Regions from separate parts of the Homo sapiens genome. Here regions 2 and 3 are each linked to region 1. The links are contacts of gene promoters, found by promoter capture Hi-C in human tissues and cell types (Jung and others, 2019). All regions are on one chromosome and are shown on one strand. Each heading gives the region's core, a stretch centred on a gene start or on the middle of the fragment in contact. The rest is flanking DNA. Distances are from core to core; before and after follow the strand shown. Region 1 holds the start of NT5C3A (5'-nucleotidase, cytosolic IIIA). Region 2 has its middle 13 kb from the start of MIR550A2. Region 3 has its middle 37 kb from the start of MIR550A2.

Evidence for each region. Contacts are between HindIII fragments. The study calls those that stand out against the background at their distance.
Region 2: a contact is called between a fragment that was not itself captured here and the fragment with the promoter of NT5C3A in region 1, in 1 of the 25 tissues and cell types used here (H1 embryonic stem cells).
Region 3: a contact is called between a fragment that was not itself captured here and the fragment with the promoter of NT5C3A in region 1, in 1 of the 25 tissues and cell types used here (lymphoblastoid cells).

What each region holds. Positions count from the first base shown.
Region 1 is chr7:33,061,498-33,064,197 of GRCh38, forward strand. It overlaps NT5C3A (5'-nucleotidase, cytosolic IIIA), which reads right to left and starts at 1,279. Exons shown (of 9, transcript NM_001002010.5): 1 at 1,071-1,279. The coding sequence starts at 1,208. It overlaps LOC124901610 (a long non-coding RNA gene), which reads left to right and starts at 1,688. Exons shown (of 4, transcript XR_007060279.1): 1 at 1,688-2,151; 2 at 2,532-2,650. RefSeq lists silencers at 914-973, 1,274-1,393 and an enhancer at 1,634-1,793. The HindIII fragment of the contact is 10,077 bases long and covers 1-2,700 here.
Region 2 is chr7:32,718,770-32,721,469 of GRCh38, forward strand. It overlaps the pseudogene DPY19L1P1. Among named protein-coding and RNA genes, the nearest start is that of MIR550A2, 13 kb to the right of the region's middle. The HindIII fragment of the contact is 4,185 bases long and covers 1-2,700 here.
Region 3 is chr7:32,694,302-32,697,001 of GRCh38, forward strand. It overlaps the pseudogene DPY19L1P1. Among named protein-coding and RNA genes, the nearest start is that of MIR550A2, 37 kb to the right of the region's middle. The HindIII fragment of the contact is 7,417 bases long and covers 1-2,700 here.

The sequences.
Region 1 (2,700 bases), core at 29-2,528:
CCTCTCAGCCTCCCAAATAGCTGGGACACTGGCTAATTTTAATTATGCAAATACATCTGTATTCAACCTGGGGTCAGTACAACCAATAGGACAAATCGTGTCTTTCGTCAGTTGGAACATATTGCAGGTGCTCAGAAATTCCAAGTATTACACCCTAAAATGATATTATTTAGTGTAGATTTTAAATTTTTTTCTATCATAAATCATCTGACCCTAGATGTTCACATGTATAGCACACGGTCAGGCGTATACCCAGGATTATGCATTTCAGGAAATACATAAGCGTGCAAGTTTGTGCAAGAATTGTCTTCCTGAGTGGGTTCTAATTAAAATACAAAACGAAACTAAATATCCTCATTTTTGAAACAATTACTTATAATGTATCTCAAAGGGAATTCTTGAGACACCCTCTTCAATAAAAAATTAAATTCGAAAATGTATACAAGAGCTTTGGGAGTTAAGATGAAAACAAAGATATTTCGTGGGAGTTTTGAGACAAGAAGGAATACATTCAAATACAAAATAAACTATCCTGAATTTCTCCTGGATTGCCATTCTTGTAAAATTTTAGATATTGCACATTTTCATAATCTAACTCACGGCAGCCCCAACATAAAACTAGTCCTCTGCGGGAATTGCAACTAGATTAGCGGCAACGGTTTGACGCGGATCCGGGGGGAGGGCGGGAGCAAGGCAGGGAGAGAAGGAGCCACCTGCCCAGGACATGCAGCTTATCTCTAGAGAAACGGGTTTTGCAGCACAAAGTAGCCTGTGTCCGATTCATCTATTTTCTGCCTTGTTCCTTCAAACGGAAACCTAACAAAGACCACGGGCAGCCAAGGGCCGCAGCCGGGGACCCAACCCTGGTCACCAAGCCCGCGGAGTGGCCGCACGCGGGGCGGCCGGGTCCCCCAAGCTGCGCGTCCCGAGCTAGCGAGATCCCAGCCTGACAGGCGACGCCGGCAGCTCCCCGTCGCGACCGAACAGCGGCCCAGCACAGGCTGCCGAGGCCAGCGGACGGCCCAGCCGGCCCCTCGCGTGCTCTGGGCGCGCCGAGCCTCCACACTCACCATCTCGATGATCTTGGTCTTCCGCCCCGTCTTCCTCTTCAAGGTGAATATGTACTGAGCCAGCACCACCCCCGCCACCAGGGCGCACACGCTGGCGCTCGCTACCGCGCCCACCCTCGCCACGGCCGCGCGGTCCATGGACGGGGCCCTCATGCGCGTCCAAGCAGGAAAAAAACAGGCAGCTCGCGTAGACTGCGAGTCTCGGAAGCGCGGGATCCCAGAGCATCACGGACGAGCCCGCGACGCCCCGCCCCGCGCAGCGACGCCCCGCCCCGCGCAGCTCCGCCCCCACGAAGCCCCACCCACACGCCATCGATGGGAGAGGCCAGGACGCGGCGGGAGGGGTGTGGCCTGTGCCCGGAGCCCAGGCTGGAGGCGGCCTTCAGCAGACTCAGGGTCTCACGAGCTGCTGTCAGGGCAGGGCAGAGTATTGCGGTAATTATCCTTCTCTGCTAATGAGGATTAGGCCGTGGTTCGCTCGAGCCCCGCCCCAGTAGAAATCTAATTCCAACTGCGGCCCGCTAAGAAGTCGGTCTCCGCCTTCGCGCCTCAGCCCCTCTGGACTCCGACCCCCAGAAGGCTGCGCGGCACGGTGTGACCTGCGCAGTGGCGTCCGTTCTAAGTGCTATAACAACAGGGGGAAGATGGCTCAGAGTTAGGCTGGAGAGGGGCGGTGTCCCTTCCGCCGCAGCCGCGGGGTTTCTGCTACATCCCATTCGCCACCTCCGCCATCCTTTTTTCTGTGTGAGCAGAAGGGCTTGCAGTTGTTCTCTCCTGCCTAGTGTCTTCCAAGGGATAGATGCCATTTCTTCTGCTGGTCTCTGGGGGTGAGGAGGGGCGCAGGGGAGCTTCTTGGGGGAATCGCTCCAACTCTGTGGAGCTGGTGGTGCTGCCTGGTGGGGCTCTCTCTGCCCAGGACGTGGAACAACTTTCAGCCGGAGGACTAGAGGAAATAGTTGTAGGGGAGGAAAAATTGTTTCCTTCTAGCCTTTTAGGTCATTTGGCTGGTCTACAAATTAAATTGATGTAAGACAGAGGAACATGAGAAAAACGATTTGTCGACCGAAAGGTGAAATAACAGGTACTAAAACTTAAAGAAATCATGGTTAGTTTTATTACTCGGCCAAGTTTGAGGACTTAAGCCTGGGAACACAGACTCAGTATAGACCGAGAACGTGTCCCAAAGTAAGTTAGCTGGGAGTATAACCTGAAGAAGACTGAGTTTTAATACCCAGAATATTTGAGTATCAATATCTAGACTACTGTGTCATTTTGTCGCCAAAGTAATTTTTTATGAATCCAGTTTTGCACCAAATACCAATATGACTTAAATGTTGTCTGATTGTGAGGCCTAAGATGGTCACAGTCTCATTTATCTTTCTTCCTCAACAAAAACATTTTCCATATATTACATATTATTTTGAATGGGTAGAGACTAAAGCCACGTTTCTATAATTTCAGGATTTTAAACATTTTGTAGACGATAACATTCGTCTTGAAGCTGTGGACAATCTAAAACAGAAATGGAGTTCCAAATTTTGTTTTTGTAATATGGCCCGTCAACTGCACATGGGAAGAATGTGGGTACTCTGAAATATGATTTCTATTTTAACTAGTTATACTATATCAT
Region 2 (2,700 bases), core at 10-2,509, 340 kb before region 1:
TCTAAATTTAAATTTCATAACTTGTATGGTGAGGCTACCACCACCCACAAAAAAAGTTTAGTGGGAATAAATCAGATAATGTGCATGACGTGATTCAACTCAACAAGTACAGTATTTCCTTTTCTCTACAGAATATATGTATATGTATATATTTACTAAAAATAAGGCAAGAGATTTCATGTTTGAAATTCTAGCTATTTAAACATTTTGATCAGCATGATTAAAATATCAACTTATAACACAAGGGTCTTTAAAATATTGTGAAGTCATAAGTAGTATACAATTATATATTGTTTCGATGAGTATATTTCTTTGTTCCTCTATAACCCCTTCTATTTCTTAAAAATTGCTTTCTAGAAAACAAACCTCTCCATGGTTGAAAAAGCAGCACAGTACTGTAATAAGACCTCCTAGTTGAGTCCCACTGTAAAAAATAATAATAATAACAGAGTATACAATCAAAATTCATGTAAAATACAGTGAGTTTTTCACAAAATTACCTCAGAATTTTAAACCATAGTTTAAATCATATTTAAAACATAATAGTACTAAACCATACCCATGTGGTTGATGCTTAAATCCTGAATGTACAATCGTAAAAAGTGTACATATAAATTAATCTCAATTTTATAATTTATCATAGCTAAAATACTTTCTAAATAAAATACATAAGGTGTGAACATAAATTTTTTTTGAGATGGGGTCTTGCTCTGTCGCACAGGCTGGAGTGCAGTGGCGAAATCTCGACTCACTGCAACCTCCACCTCCTGGGTTCCAAATATTCTCCTGCCTCAGGTTCCCAAGGAGCTGGGATTACAAGCGTGTGCCACTATGCCCGGCTAATTTTTTTACTTTTAGTAGAGATGGGGATTCACCATGTTGGCCAAGCTGGTCTCAAACTCCTGACCTCGTGATCCACTCGCCTCGGCCTCCCAAAGTGCTGGGATTACAGGCATGAGCCACCGCGCCCCACCGCATAAAGTAATTTTTAAGAAACAGGCTAGCACTTTAGAGTCTAGATCACATCCTTTGAATAACCTGAATAAAGGCAAATTCTTATTTTTGAAATTGGCTTTAAGGGATTGAGAAATGAAGACAAGATTCAAACAGTTTCATGTAGCATTAACTTAGAACTGTCTAAACTACTGCAAATATTCTTTACTTGAGTCCCAGACAAGCAATAATGCCGAATACAAAAATCAGATGAAAGATAAAAACCATTTCTTTTGTTGTTGTCTTTTTGTTTTTTTGTTTGTTTGAGAAGGAGTCTCGCTCTGTCACGCAGGCTGGAGTGCAGTGGAGCGATCTCAGCTAACTGCAACCTCTGCCTCCCCAGTTCAAGCCGACTCTTCTGCCTCAGCCTCCCGAGTAGCTGGGATTACAGGCGCCTGCCACCATGCCCGGCTAATTTTTTTTTTTTTTTGTATTTTTAGTAGAGACGGGGTTTCACCATGTTAGCCAGGATGGTCTCGATCTCCTGACCTCATGATCCGCCCGCCTCGGCCTCCCAAAGTGCTGGGATTACAGGCGTGAGCCACTGCGCCTGGCCCAAAAACAGAACTTTTTTTAAAAAAATAGAATATTTTTAAACCTGCCCAAACAATCTCAAAGCAATCCTTTTCCCTCAAAGTACTTTAATGAGCTTATATTTTTCTACACGGCATATAGAAAAGTGCATAAAATTTCTAGATTATAGAACTGTAAAGGGAACGTCCATGTAGTCACCATATAATTAATTGAAATAGAGAAATGATTATACTGTCTTCACTTGCCAGCCTCCAAGATAAGAATCAGCTACTGACCTGATTTTTGAGATTATCAACATAACTCTTTCTATACACATATCAAACTATGATTTACTTTAATCTGTTTTTAAACAACATACAAATGGAAGAATGCAGCATTTTTTTAAATTTTGTACCTGGATTCACTCATTCAAAATTATATTTGTAAGATTCAACCATGTTGTGTGTAGCTGCATAGTTCATTCATTCTCATTATTGTATACTGTTCCACCATGTTAATAAACCAAAATGTATTCATTTCTCTGTTAATGGATATTTGGGTTCTTTCCAGTTTGAAGCTATTGCAAATAATGCTACCATATTATTGTATGTACTTCCTAGTACACATGTGCAATACTTTTTTGGGAATATGTATGTTAAATTACAATTGCTGAGTTATAAGGTATCCATACCTTCAACTTTACCAGATAATATACACTGTTTACCAAAATAGTTGTACCAATTTATATGTCCACCTGTGGTGGACGAAAGCTCCTTTATCAATCTATTAGATGTGAGTTGGTATTTCACTATGGTTTGAATTTATATTTTCTTTATAACAAATGATGGTGGTCAACTTTACATATGTTTATTGACCATGTGGTGTTCTTCTGGGAAATATCAGTTCATAAACATTTTGTCCATTTTTCTATCAAGTTGTCTTTCTTCTTTGTCTTTATCTTCCCACTCTAATATAAACTTCACAAGGACAGAGATTTCTCTTCTGTATTCCAAGCACCTAGAACAGTGCTCCTGGTCACAACAGGCTTTCAATAAATATTTATCAAATTAATGAATGGAATTTCTGGATAGTAGGTGGGGCATAAACTTTGTAAATATCTTCACTCACTTTCAGGTTTTTTTAATCCTACAGTTCTTTTGAGGTAAAATTGATAAACTCATCAAATTTATCAGT
Region 3 (2,700 bases), core at 10-2,509, 370 kb before region 1:
AGGTCTAATATCCAGTACCTAAAAGGAACTTAAACCAACAAGCAAAAACAAACGGCCTCATTAAAAATGGGCAAAAAATGTGAACAGACACTTATCAAAAGGAGACATGCATGTAGGCAACAAGCATATGAAAAAATGTTCACCATCACTAATCATTAGAGAAATGCAAATCAAAACCACAGTAAGATGCCATCTCACACCAGTCAGAATGGCTATGATGAAAAAGTTTAAAAAAAAAAAGATGCTGGTGAAGTTTTGGAGAAAAGAGAACACTTATACACTGCTGGTAGAAATGTAAACCAGTTTGGCCACCGTGGAAAGCAGTTTGGAGATTTTTCAAAGAATTTAAAATGGAGCTATCATTCAACCCAGCAATCCCATTACTGGATATATACCCAAAGGAATATAAATTGTTCTACCATAAAAACACATATACACGTATGTTCATTGCAGCATTATTCACAATAGCAAAGACATGGAATCAACCTAAATGCCCATCAACGGCGGAATGGATAAAGAAAATATGGTACATATATACCATGGAATACTATACAGCCATATAAAAAGAATGAGATCATGTCCTCTGTAGCAACACAGATGGAGCTGGAGGCCAGTTTCCTAAGTGAACTAACACAGAACAGAAAACCAAATACTGTATGTGCTCCTTATAAGTACGAGCTAAACATTGAGCACACATGGACAAAAAGAAGGGAATAACAGGCACCAGGGCCTACTTGAGGGTGGAGGGTGGGAGGAGAGTGAGGACTGAGAAAATACCTATCAGGTACTATGCTTATTACCTGGGTGACAAAATAATCTGTACACCAAACCCCATGACATGTGATTTACCTATATAACAAACCTGCAAATGTACCCCTGAACCTAAAATAGAAGTTGGAAGGAAAAAAATTCATTGCACAAATGGAAACAATAAAATCTACAATTTGAACATGTATTTGAATAGCTAGACGTGTCATCAGAACAATTCTTGGTGCTTATTTAAGCACCCAGAGCTACCTAAAGAGAACATGAGGTTTAAGAACCACTGATGAGGAATCAAAGCCCTACTTTGAAGAGTATAAATATATAAGCATTATATACATATATACACACATATTTTAAAGAATTATAAAATGAACACTTGTATACTTAACACCAAGAAATTGAATATTAACATTGAAGCACCCAGGGCTTCTCCTGTATTGCATTCTTTCCTAGAAGTGATCACCAGCCTGTTTTGAATTAACTATGCCTATGCTTTCGCTGTTTTGCCACACTATATCTTCTATAATATTGTTGTCTTGTTTGTTTTTAGGGCATATGTAAATGGCATATATATTGACATGCACACTCATCCCCTTTGATGACTTAGTTTTTTATCTTTAACAGTCTATTTGACATTGGTTCCCGCTGACACTTTTGACTGTAGATCACATTCACTCATTTACAATATTACTTTGTATGGAAATATTCATTTTATCCATTCTGTTGGTGGGCCTTTGAGTTGTTTTCAGCTTTTTTTTCTCAGGTACAAATAATGCTTCCATGAAGATTCATGTAATTGGTTTCCTTGGTATATTTGTACCAATATTTCTTTAGGGTGAAACTATAAATTGCAGACACTATATACCTTAAAACTTATTAGGTAATAACGACTTATTTTCTTTTTATTATTATTATACTTTAAGTTTTAGGGTACATGTGCACAACGTGCAGGTCTGTTACATATGTATACATGTGCCATGTTGGCATGCTGCACCCATTAACTCGTCATTTAGCATTAGGTGTATCTCCTAATGCTATCCCTCCCCCCTCCCCTCACTCCACAACAGTCCCCGGTGTGTGATGTTCCCCTTCCCACGTCCATGTGTTCTCATTGTTCAATTCCCACCTATGAGTGAGAACATGCCGTGTTTGGTTTTTGGTCTTTGTGATAGTTTGCTGAGAATGATGGTTTCCAGTTTCATCCATGTCCCTACAAAGGACATGAACTCATCATTTTTTATGGCTGCAGTGAGCCAAGATCGTGCCACTGAACTCCAGCCTGGGCGACAGAGCAAGACTCCATCTCAAAAAAAAAAGGGAGAACCAAGGATTTTATATCTAGCCAATCTGTCATTCAAGTATAGATGTTATAAAAAAAGTTTCAAATATGCAATAATTGAGGAAATAATAGTAACCTTCTCAAATACAAAAAGTTTAAAAGAGAATCATATACAGAAACAAAGCAAATATAGTCAAATACACATAAAACTTACAACAAAGGTTCTCACATTATCTCACAAAGCAAAGACAGACTCAACTTATGCTACACAGGGAAGACAAATACAAACAGATTCAGAAAGGTGAAAAATAGAATGATGGCATCAGCATGGCAGGCAATACCATTTCCATATGCAAACTAAGGAAGACATTTAAAGCAAGGATAAGAAGCAAATTCATGGCCTCAAAAGCTTTATCAATAAAAATGAAAGAGTGAAAATAAATGAATTAAATTCTTGACTTAAAAATCTAAATAAATAACAAAATAAAGCAAAAAAAGTATACTAAAGGAAATACTCATGAGAAGAATAGTCTATTATATCTACCCCTCTGTGTATCTATTTTGCGTTTTATATTTCTTCTCTATATTCTAGGATTCCTTCTTTCATTTCCTTTTTGTTTTCAGAATTTTTAAATTTTAAGTTCAGGGATACATGT